Regions from separate parts of the Homo sapiens genome. Here region 1 is linked to region 2. Evidence: promoter capture Hi-C in human tissues and cell types (Jung and others, 2019). All regions are on one chromosome and are shown on one strand. The core of a region is centred on a gene start or on the middle of the fragment in contact, and the rest is flanking DNA. Distances in the headings are between cores, read along the strand shown. Region 1 overlaps TPTEP2-CSNK1E (TPTEP2-CSNK1E readthrough). Region 2 holds the start of CBX6 (chromobox 6).

Evidence for each region. Contacts are between HindIII fragments. The study calls those that stand out against the background at their distance.
Region 1: a fragment that was not itself captured here is called in contact with the fragment with the promoter of CBX6 in region 2 in 1 of the 25 tissues and cell types used here (hippocampus).

Annotation. Positions count from the first base shown.
Region 1 is chr22:38,300,454-38,306,508 of GRCh38, forward strand. TPTEP2-CSNK1E (TPTEP2-CSNK1E readthrough) reads right to left here. Exons shown (of 15, transcript NM_001289912.2): 7 at 2,685-2,795; 8 at 2,408-2,556; 9 at 271-499. It overlaps CSNK1E (casein kinase 1 epsilon), which reads right to left. Exons shown (of 11, transcript NM_152221.3): 3 at 2,685-2,795; 4 at 2,408-2,556; 5 at 271-499. Among named protein-coding and RNA genes, the nearest start is that of CSNK1E, 14 kb to the right of the region's middle. RefSeq lists enhancers at 5,280-5,329, 5,430-5,679. The HindIII fragment of the contact is 4,513 bases long and covers 722-5,234 here.
Region 2 is chr22:38,870,962-38,876,914 of GRCh38, forward strand. It overlaps CBX6 (chromobox 6), which reads right to left and starts at 1,255. Exons shown (of 5, transcript NM_014292.5): 1 at 1,161-1,255; 2 at 941-984; 3 at 731-796; 4 at 519-585. The coding sequence starts at 1,229. RefSeq lists silencers at 877-926, 1,027-1,176, 1,207-1,466 and enhancers at 1,461-2,011, 2,012-2,561, 2,398-3,597, 3,414-3,593. The HindIII fragment of the contact is 23,948 bases long and covers 1-4,309 here.

The sequences.
Region 1 (6,055 bases), core at 1,728-4,227, 570 kb before region 2:
AGCCTGTATCTTCCAGCCTGCACCAACAGGGCGGAGGAGGAAGCAGGGCCAGGGAAGGCGCCCGGCACACACAGCTTGGCTTACGAAGGGGAAGACCCGACTGTGCAAGGACACGGAATAAGCACGAGCTTGGGGGCAGACGGGGTGGGGACTTTCTCACTAGAAAAGAGCCTGGGGGCCTCCATCAGGGTAGGGGGTGAGAGGGCTCCAGAGAGCTGGGCCCCAGCCAGTGGCCCCGGGTGCACACTGCTCCAGGCCTGGCTCCCTCACCAATGCCCAGGTGCGTGTTGATGGAAGCGTAGCGGGCCGTGCCGGTCAGGTTCTTGTTTTCCCGGTAGGGAATGTGCTGGTGGGTGCGGGCGTCCCGGTACTTCTTGGCCAGGCCGAAGTCGATGATGTAGACCAGGTTGCCCTTCTTCCCCAGCCCCATGAGGAAGTTGTCGGGCTTGACGTCCCGGTGGATGAAGTTCTTGGAGTGGATATACTCGATGCGGCTGATCTGGGGAGGAGGGGGGCCATTTGTTCAACAGAGGGGCCCTTGCCTAGCACTCTGGGCCAGGCAGGGGCTGGGGCCACAGAGGTGGAAAGGCAGAGGGAGAAAGGCCTGCCTTCGACCATGAAGGATAACTAAGGGGCAGGCCAGAGAAGGCCTCCTGGAAAATGTGACATCAGGATGAACTCTAAAGGGGGAGTTCACCAAGTTGGCTGTGAGACAGAGAAAGAGAGTATTGCAGGAAAGCTAATGGGAAGATCCAGAAATGAAGAGTCTGCTAGAAAGGCAACTGGTTCCCCATGGAAGGCTTGCCTGCCCGGCCCCACACTCACAGGACTTAGGGAGCCAGAGAGGCAACAGATGTGGGCGAGGGGCAGGCAGGGAACATGGGGGAAGCCTAGACCAGGAAGAGGTGACAGAGGCAGAACACAAAAGACAGGGCTTCCGAAGGATGCCAAACTCAGACAGGCACATGGCCCTCTTTCCTTTGATATTTTTTTTTTTGAGATGGAGTCTCGGTCTGTTGCCCAGGCTGGAGTGCAGTGGCAAAATCTCGGCTCACTGCAACTTCTGCCTTCAGGGTTCAAGTGATTTTCCTGCCTCAGCCTCCCGAATAGCTGGGACTATAGGCACGCGCCACCACACCTGGCTAATTTTTTGTATTTTTAGCAGAGATGGCGTTTCACCATGATGGTCAGACTGGTCTCAAACTCCCGATCTCAGGAGATCCGCCTGCCTCGGCCTCCCAAAGTGCTGGGATTACAGACTTGAGCCACCTTTTCAGTCGAGTTTTTAAAACTCAAACTAATATCCATCCACATGCCGTGGCCTCTGGCTCTGGCCCCAGGTTCAGCACAGCTCAACATCTCCTGCACCTTTCTTGAGTTTCACACCATGAGGGGCTCTGGCGACCCTCTGCTCACACACCTTCAGCCTACATCGCAGGGCTTTTGCAGACCAAGATTAAAACCCCTGTACGAGATCTCCACATTCCATTCCAAGTTCAAAATTCTACAGTTTTGTATTTTTAAGAAGCTTTCCTCCCTATGCTGATGAAGGGCTTAGTACTTAACAACAGCCTGTTAGAGGGGCCTGTTTTGGCAAGGCGCTGAATGGTATCTCACCTAATCCCCTCAACAACCAACAAAGGAGAGACTCTCACATGAGGCCACTGAGGCTCAGAGAGGTTCGGCGTTCACCTACGGTCACTGGTCTGGAACAGGACCAGGTCTGTGTGACCGACCGCAGGCTTTACATTACCCAGGGCAGGCCAGACGTGGTGGATCATGCCTGTGATCCCGTGTTAATTCCCATCTTGGGAGGCCAAGATGGGAAGACTGCTCAAGGCCAGGAGTTTGAGACCAGCCTGGTCAACACAGTGAGACCCCCATCTCTATTTCTTACAATTAAATGATATTTTTGAAATAAATAAATAAAACTACCCCAGGCAGAGTCCCAGGCCCTGACTCGGCAGGTCTGGAGTTGGGCCTGAAATCACATTTTAAATAAACAACTTGGCTGGGCACGGTGGCTCACGCCTGTAATCCCAGCACTTTGAGAGGCTAAGATGGGCGGATCACTTGGTAAAACTCTGTCTCTACTAAAAATACAAAAATTAGCCCAGCGTGGTGGCAGGTGCCTGTAATCCCAGCTACTCATGAGGCTGAGGCAGGAGAATCGCGTGAACCTGGGAGGCGGATGTTGCAACGAGCTGAGATCGCACCACTGCGCTCCAGCCTGGGCGACAGAGTGAGACTCCGCCTCAAAAAATAAATAAACACCTACAATTCTATAGCCAGTGGACAAGGTCCCCTGGCCCAGGCCCATCCTCTGGCATCCTCTGGGGGCAGGAGGCAGGGCTGGTATCCTGGGCCCACAGGCATCTGGCTGGGGATGGAGGGGACGGGGACTCACCATCTGGTCGGCCAAGAGCAGCACCGTCTTGAGGCTGAATTTGCGGGAACAGAAGTTGAACAGGTCCTCGAGGCTAGGCCCCAGCAGCTCCATGACCATCACGTTGTAGTCGCCCTCAGCTCCGCACCACTTGATGGACGGGATCCCCACTGGGGGTCAAGCAGAGGGCCTCTGTCAGGGGTCAGAGGCAGGCAGCCAGCCACGCCCGGCCCACCCTGTGCTCATGGCTGCCCACCGCCACCCACCCGGCGCCCGCCGCCGCCCACCCTGCGCTCACCGCCACCCTGCATCATCTTGTAGAACTTGCTCTCGATGTGCAGCTGGGGGTGCTTTGTCTTCACACACTCCAGCTTGATGGCGACTTCCTCACCAGAGGCGATGTTGGCACCTGCCCGGGGCAGGGAGGCAAGGGACCAGGGTCACCCTCAAAGGCCAGGCAGTCCCAGGCGCCCCACTAAGCATTTCTGAGATCTGGCGTGTGCCGGGCCCGGGGCCATCTGCCCTTGAGGAGCTCTTGGGGGAGGCTGGGAAGGGGGCAAAGGAGCCCCGGCAAAGGGTTCCTGAGGGGAAAGAAGGTCAGCGCTGTGAGGGACAGAGGTGACACACAAGGGCTACCCAGGGCCACAGGTTGGGGCGACAAGAAGGCCCGATGTGAGTGGGGCAAGGGTCAGGTATGCAAAAGGCTCACAGACCACCTAAGGGAGGGGGCTGAGTCCTAGAGCAAATTCAGGCAGTGAGGTCTGTCGGGTTGAGATGGTGGCACGTGCAGAAGAGGCCCAATGGGGCTGGGCTGCCGAACACACCAGAACAAGCCAGGACCACCCTGGCCTACAGGATGAGGATGGGACAGCCGCAGCAACCCCTCAGTCAATGCTGATGCCTTCAGAGGCAGCCCTGCACATTCTAATCCAGTGTCTCATTCGATTCTCAACCCCCTTGTAGAGATGAGAAAACAGAGACCCAGCTAGAGACCCAGCTCAAGGTCACCTGACCTGTAAATGGCGGCCTTGAGATCAACCCCGGCTCTGCTGGCCTCCAGCATAGGTCAGAGGTCCTGCCTGCACCTCCCCGTCTCCCCCAGTCCACTCCTGGCTTCTCAAGGGGCTCTAAGAAAATACCCTCACACACACCAAGGCCCCGCTCTCTGCCTGGGCCCACTGCCCAACTCAAGAAGTCACAAGAAAGACCAAGCCCAAAGTGTACCTTGCCTCAGTTTCCCTGGCTGTATGGGTGGATGAGATGAAGGGCTGGGGCTAGGCTGGGCGACAGGGTGTCTCCTTCCTGGGGCCAGCAGCGAGCCCAGCAGGAGGAGTAGGACAGTGTCGCAACAGGACACAAACAGGCCAGAACAACCCCCAGGGACACAGCCTCAGGAGGAGTTCAAGACAGGAGAAAGGCAGGACCTCACATCAGAGGAAAAGATGAGACTGTTCATTAATAATGTCCCTGAACAACCGGCTGGCCACCTGAGAAAAGACACCATGGCTCACACCACAACCAGGAGAAATCTCAAGTAGAGGAAAAGTTTGTATATAAGAAATAAAGGTGTGGGTGTGAGTTGGCACAGCCCCTGTGCACCTCTTGGGTGAAGCTGAACATAAACAAACGCTCGCCCAAGCAACCCCACTCCTGAGTGTACATCCTTCAGAAACACGTGTGCACCAGGGGGACAGGACAAGGATGGACACAGGAGCAAACAGCCCAAGTGCTCAGCAGCAGAAGAACAGGAACAGTGGCGCAGTCACCAGGGAATCCCAGGCGGCAGTGAAGAGGAAAGGATGCCTGCTTCACACAATGACCCTGGTCCCAGGGGTGCACTCCTCACAGCAGCCAGAGGGTGGAAACAACAAACATCTGTCACAGATGCAAGGATGAATGGAATGCAGTGCCTCCATGCGGCGGAATATTATTCAGCAATAAAGAGGAATAAAGTACCGATACACGCTACGACACGAGTGCACCTTGAAAACATTCTACCCGAGGCCAGGCACAGTGGCTCACGCCCGTAATCCCAATACTTTGGGAGGCTGAGGCGGGTGGATCACAAGGTCAGGAGTCCGAGACCAGCCCAGCCAAGGTGGTGAAACCCTGTCTGTACCAAAAATACAAAAATTAGCCGGGCGCAGTGGCAGGCATCTGTAATCCCAGCTACTTGGGAGGCTGAGGCAGGAGAATCACTTGAACCCAGGAGGCGGAGGTTGCAGTGAGCCGAGATTGTGCCATTGCACGCTAGCCTGGGTGACGGAGTGAAACTCCAGCTCAAAAAAAAAAAAAAAAAAAAAAAAAAGAAGAGTGCAAGCACAGTTCTACTTGTTTCCATATCAAAACAGGCAACAAGACTGGACAATACAGATTTAAACACGAAAGAAAGGAAAAAGATTAAATGTCAGACGGTGGTTCCCAGGGAGGGACACCTTAGGCCATGCAGGTATTCTATACGTATTCTTTGCATCCACTCAACGTTTAATAAGAAATAACAATGAAATGTTAGAAGAAGGGAGAATTGCCTTATAGCCTTGGGGTTAGGCAAAGCTTTTATTTTTATCCCTGATTCAAAATCCTAAAGCCATTTAAAAAAAAAAAAAAAAAGCTCCTTCCTCTCCAAAAAAAAAAGAATCCCTTCTGCATGGCAAAAACACCGGAAATAAAGTCCTAAGAGACATACTCACTTGCAATTCTTATCACAGGCAAAGAGCTAATATGTAATGAGCTCCTACAAATCAGTCAGAAAAAGACTCAGCAGAAAATAGGCCAAAGGATTTGAAACACACACTTCACAGAGAAAGAAATCATTAATAGAAAAGCCTTACTCATAGGGAAAGATGCCCAACCTCCTTGTAAGAGAAATGCAAATTAATATGATCGTGAAAGACCATGTTTCACCTAGGATTGTCAAAAGTCTTACGAGATAACACACCTGTCTGTCGGCAAGACTGTGGGGGCGCTGAGCACTCCTCCCAGGTGGTGGAGGCGTCAACTGCTGAGTCGCCACTGGAGGGGGATTTGACGCTACTCAGCCCTGACCAGCAACCCCGCTTCTGGGAGTTTACCTGACATCCTAGCACGGTGCAAAACAAGGCGGGGACAAGGCTGTCGGCTGCAGGCTGTTTGGAACAGCAGAAGCTTGGAAACAACCCAAATGTCCCTCCTGAGGGGGCTGATTAAATAAAGAATAGCCCATCCATAAAACAGAATACAATGGAAAAAGAACCAGGAAGCTCTCTCTGCACACAAGTGGAAAGATCTCCAAGATACAGGAAGTGAAAAAGCAAAGCACAGAACAGTGTATATTCCACACTCTCATTTCAGTTTTCTTTAAAAAGGTGGGGAACTAAGTATCTGTGTTTGGCTCTAGCTACATAAAGAAACACTGAACAGAAACATGACTGTACAGGGCTAAGTGGGTCAGGGAGGAAGGGGTGGGGGACGCTTCACTGGATACTGTGTTATAAGTTGCAATTTCTTTCAACACCTTTATTGAGATGTAATTCAGATAACTCTCCAATTGAGTCACTCAAAGTGTGCGACTCACCGTTTTTAGTATATTCACAAGCTTGCGCAGCCATTACCACAATCAATTTTAGAACACAGGCCGGGCGCGGTGGCTCACGCCTGTAATCCCAGCACTTTGAGAGGCCGAGGCAGGCG
Region 2 (5,953 bases), core at 5-2,504:
TTTGAGGTCAAATTCAAGTTGGATCCCCAAGAAAGGAGGGGAGCCATGAAGAACAAATCCTGAAAGACTGAACGGGGGAAGCTGGGGGCAGGGAGGCAGGTGGTCCCCCAAATCCTCTCCTTGTGCCCTGCCAGGAGGTGGGACCCCACTCACTCTCCCCCTGGGTTCCAACTCCCAGCACAGTCATAACAGCTCAAACAAATGCCCCCTTCCCATGGGCATCCCCCACCTGCCTCAGCCACCCCCTTTCCTGGAGCCCTAAAGGCATCCCCAGCCCCTGGTTTCAACAGGGAGGATTATCCCCAGTCCCAAAACCCTCTTGTTGAAGCTGATGCTGGCTGAGGCCTGCCATCAGGGGCTTCTGGGGGGGCTCACAACCACCCCCTGCCCAGCTGGGGCCCCTCTGAAAAGGCCGGCCCGCTTGGGCGGCCGCGTATCTGTCCCTCCCTTCCAGGCCCCGTGCTGTGCCGGGGCTGGGGGCCCGAGAGGGGGATGCTGCTGGGGCTGGGCCAGGTTACCTTCAGGAGGAAAGTTTTGGGTTTGGGTCCCCTCTTCTTGGGCCCATACAGCTCACGCTCCCTCTCCCTGCGGCCGAAAAACACCAGAGGTTAAAAAGAGCCCCTTCCCGGGCCCCACTCCGCGCTGCCCTCCCCGGCTCTCCCGCTTCCCCGCGCGGCGCCCCAGCCGAGCCTCGGCCTCGCAGCCCCTGCCAGCTTCCCCAACAACTCACTTTTGTTCGAAGGCTGCAATGAGCCGCGAGTCCAGGATGTTCTCCTCGGGCTCCCAAGTGCTGTACCTGCCGAGTCACAAACGCACAAAATCAGGATGAAGACCAGAGAGGGACAGGCACGCGGCGAGAGCAAGAGCGCGCACCCCCACCCCAGGCCCCGGTGCCCGCTGCCTCCCCTCCCGCGACGCCCCCGGACCCCGCGACACTCACTTGATCGCCCACCCCTTCCATTTCACCAGGTACTCGATGCGTCCCTGAAAAACAGAGGGGAGAAAAACGGGGGTGGGGGTGGGGAGGATGCGGGGACGCGAGGAGGCGGCGGCGCGGGGCTGGGCGAGGGAGCCGGGCTAGCGGGACCGCTTCGCCCCGAGGGCCCCCGGCCCCGGCCCCGGCTGCGGACAGCGGCGGCCCGCCCCGGGCGGCGGCTCACCTTTCGGATCCGCCGTTTGATGATGGATTCGGCCGCGAAGACCCGCTCGCCCACTGCAGACAGCTCCATCTTGCTCAGCGGCACCCACAGCCCATAATACTCCCTGCGCCCGCGGCCGGTGCGGCACCGCTCGCGCACGCGCCGCAGCGCCCAGGCCCCGGCGGGCGGGAGCGCGGCGGGGCGCGCGCTCGCGTTCCAGCTGCGGGCCGTCACGTGATCCTCGCGGCTGGCGCGCGGTTGCCAGGACCTCCCCCTCCCCCGGGGCGGTTGCTAGGGAAAGTCGGCGCTCGCGGGGCGGGGGCGCGCGCTGGCTCTTAAAGGGGCCGCGCGGGCGGAGGGAGCAATTGCCGGCCGACCCGATGGGTGCCCGGCTTGTGGGCACGCTGCGGCCTTACGCTTATCACCCCCCCTCACATCTTGCCGGCGCCCGATCGCTGACACCCTCTCCTTGCCTCTTAATCCCCACGCGAGTCTCGCCAGGCCCCGGGCGGAGAAGGGCTGTGGAGCCCGAGTCTCGCCGCCACCGCGCATCTCCCGCAGCAGCCTGCAAACAGTTAAATATGATGCAGCAGAAATGCAGTTGCTGTTGCCTTGCCAGGCCTTGCGGGAATTTCTTTAAAACATCGCCCCCCACCCATTATTTATGTATTCGTGGGAGGGTGGTTTTGTAACCAGTTCAGAAGAGTTAAAACAAAAACGCCACCGCAGGAAGGGGGTGTGCGGCGAATGGGGCCGAGGAAGGCCGGAGTGACCGTGGGCATCTGTCTGCGGCCGGGGTCTCGGGCGGCACCTGTCCTCGCCCAGGAGACCGGGGAGGATTCGGCGGGGCCGGTGTGGCAGTGGGGGAGGGAGAGGGACCGCGGGCAGGAACGGGCTCCCCGCACTCCGCCTTGGGCCCACAGCGGGTCATCATCTGGTCATTCGGCAGAAACCGCCTTCGCGGTCATATCTGTGTTTTCCGATTCCCAGCACCCCTCCCGGCCCCCCGACCTGGCCGCGTCCCTCTCCCCGCCCGCAGCTGCGCGAAGCTTCCGCCATTGCTCTGGGGAGCCCAGATCCCAGCTTCCCACTTGAGGAGGGGCGGGGGATCGAGCTGGGGCTGTCCAGGAACGGACACACAAAAAATAGCCCTGCCGCGCAAAACGCTCCACTTTTTAAATGTTGAAATTACTTGAACTTTATTTCCCATTATGTTAGTAGTCTTGTTCTTTGTAAAACAATTTTAAAAATACAGATAAAACAACTGTCCATAACCCCCATAAAACCATTGTTAACATCTTCACCAATCTTCCAGCCTCTGCTCTATGCGTACATAAACTCACGTACACCTATGTATGTATGTATATACATACACATACACATTGTCTGTAGATTTAATTTTTTAACAAAATGGGATCACGCTATTCACACTGTTCTGGAATCTGCTTTTCTCCCTTAATGCTATAAAGTGGACATCTTTCAGTGTCATTAAATACAGATTTCACCATCCTTCCAGTGACCACCTTGGGGCTGAGATGGGGTGGGGAGGAATGGGGATTGTGAAGAGTCAGGGTTGTGTCTTGCGAACATCAATGGCTCATTAGGAAAGATTTTTGCGTTTCTGTGCTACAATGCCAATTCTTGGGTTTCAAATCCACCATAGCAAAATGTTAGTCTTTTTCTCCCAGCAGATTTGTCCAATTATTACCTTGAGAGAAATCCCTCTCCTCACTTAAAATCAGTATGTTCCAGGGAAACAGCTATTTGCTGGCCAGCCCAAGGTGAGCTGCTGTGGTAAAAATAGAAATGTCCTCCTGGGAGATGTGGGTGGTGGTGGGTGAGCAGGTGAGAGGAGTGGGTATGACAGTGTGTGTGTGTTCAGGCTGACGGAGACAGGCGGGGGATGAAGCAGGTGAGTCCACTTGTTGATTCATTCAGCAGTGTTTGTGAGCCCTTGTGAAGCACCAGGCTTTGTGTGAAACCATCAGGAAACAAAGGTGCCCCAGGCTGAGGAGCTGTCAGTGGAGTGAGAACGGCACCTGTCACACAGTGTGACTAATGCTAGAATAAAGGTGTAGGAGTTTCGTGTTGCTGCTCTCACAAATTAACACAAGCTCAGTGGCTTAAAATGACTCACATTTGTTATCTGATGACTCTGGAGGCGGGAAGTCCCAAATCAGTGTTACTGGGCCCAAGTGAAGGTATCCTCAGGGCTGGTCCCTTTTTGGAGGGTCAAGGAGAGTATCTGTTCCGTGCCTCATCCAGCTTCCAAATGTTGCTGGCATTTCTTGGCTCATGGCTTCATCACTCAAATCTCTGTTTCCACGATCCCTTTGCTCACTTCCTGCTTCTTTCTTTCTTTTGTTTTTGTTTTTGAGATGGAGTCTTGCTCAGTCACCCAGGTGGGAGTGCAGTGGCACAATCTCGGCTCACTGCAACCTCTGCCTCCCGGTTTCAAACAATTCTCCCAGTCTCAGCCTCCCAAGTAGCTGGGATTACAGGCATGCGTCACCACACCCGGCTAATTTTTGTATTTAGTAGAGATGGGGGTTTCACCATGTTAGCCAGGCTGGTCTCGAACTCCTGACCTCAAGTAATCCACCCGCCTCAGCCTCCCAAAGTACTGGGATTACAGGCGTGAGCCACCGCACCTGGCTTCTGCCTCTTTCTTTTAACAACACTTGTGATTACATTGGGTCTGCCCAAATAATTGAGAATGATCTTTCCGTCTCAACCTCAACTTAATCAGATTTGCAAAGACCCTCTTACCATAGGGTAACATGGATGGTAAGTAAGGTATCCTATCCACAGGTTCTGGGGGCTAGGGGCTAGGACACGGACATCTTTCGGGGAGGCATTATAAGCCTGCCACAAGAGTCTGTACAGGATGTCTTGGGAGTGGACATAGGGGAGCAACCTACCACGTGGAGGTGAGGCTGTGAGGGCTTCTCAGAGGTGGAGACCTCTGATTTGGGGCCGGAAAGACAAATGGGAATTGGCCTACAAGTGAAGAATGGGAAGGGTGTCCCGGGTGGAGGTGTCAACTTGAACAAGCACATCAGAGCCTGAGAGTGTGTTTTGGGGATGGGAAAGAAGTCTGCTATGGCATGGGTTGGGGCAGTACGGCAAAGGATGGCAATGGAAAGATGGGTTGGACTGAACTTGGGAAGGGCCTTGAATGCTGGGTAGGTTTGGACTTTGTCTCAGGCAGTGGGAAGCGTGAGGGAGTTTTGAGTAGAGGAGGGATGTGATGAGATGAAGTGGGAATTCGGGCAGCCAGGCTTGGATCCCTTTTCTTTTGGTAATCGTGTGATGTTGTACAAGTCCTTTTCTACTCTCTGGATCTTAGTTTTTCAACTTCAAAAATGGGGGAGGAACTGGCCCTTTTTCATGCTCTATATTTTTTGGCAGGTGACTTTTTTTTTTTTTTTTTTTGAGGTGGAGTCTCCCTTTGTTGCCCAGGCTGGAGTGCAGTGGCGTGATCTTGGCTCACTACAACCTCCGCCTCCCAGGTTCAAGTGATTCTCCTGCCTTGGCCTCCTGAGTAGCTGGGACTATAGGCGCGCCACCTTGCCAGGCTAATTTTTGTATTTTTAGTAGAGACGGGGTTTCACTATGTTGGCCAGGCTGGTCTCAAACTCCTGACCTCGTGATCCGCCCGCCTTGGCCTCTCAAAGTGCTGGGATTACAGGCGTGAGCCACTGCGACAAGCTGCAGGTGACTCTTTTGAAAATCTGTTATTTCCAAGTCATTCCAAAATTTTGGAGAGATTTATGGACTTCTCACATGCTTTTCCCTTGTTTATGAGCACCTGGAGAAGATAGTCTCTATTCTATGAGAAAAAAATCCCCTCCACCTCTGACAGTCTATAGTTCTGAGGTTTGGTGTAACATCACAAAGGAAAAAAATTGATCTCTTAGCCTGTGTGAGTTGTTGCCCAGACAGAGGGCAAATCAGTTTCCTATGAAATTGTGAACCAAAACTATCTGAGACAAGTCTCAATCAATGTAGAAAGTTTATTTTGCCAAGGTTAAGGACGTGCCCGTGACATAGCCTCAGGAGGTCCTGATGACTTGTACCCAAAGTGATAGGGGTATAGCTTGGTTTTATACATTTTAGGGAGATATGAGACATCAATCAGTACATTTAAGATGTACATTGGTTCAGTCTGGAAAGGTGGGGCAACTCGAAGTGGGGGCTTCCAGGTGGTAGGTAGATAAGAGACAAAAGGTTGTATTATTTTGATTCTGATCAGCCTTTCACTGAGTACACAATTTACATGTGAGGAGGGTAGAGGAAGAGTCACTTATGCCTCAGTCTGTCTCAGTGAATCTGCATTTTTACATAAGCAACAGGCGGAGGAAGCAATCAGATATGCATTTGTCTCGGGTGGGAAGAGGGATGACTTTGAGTTCTGTCCTTGTCCCGCATCTGTTAAGATAAACTATCAATTTACATTGCCAAGGTGAAATTCAACAGAACTGTTTTAGGGTAAAGATGCTGAGGCCCACATGGAAATTCCTTGGGGGCAAACTCTGAAGGAGATATGTAGTTTTTTAATCTTTGTAACTATCTTATTTGGGGAAAAAATGGGAGCCAAGTTTGCCTGATGCAGTCCCCAGCTTGACTTAGTGATTTTTTGGGTTCAAATTTCAACCCCAAAAAAGGCAACAACTGTCTTTCTTTTTTTTTTCTTTTCTTTTTTTGAAATGGAGTCTCGCTCTGTCGCCCCGGCTGGAGTGCAGTGGCGCGATCTCGGCTCACTGCAAGCTCTGTCTCCTGGGTTCATGCCATTCTCCTGCCTCAGCCTCCCG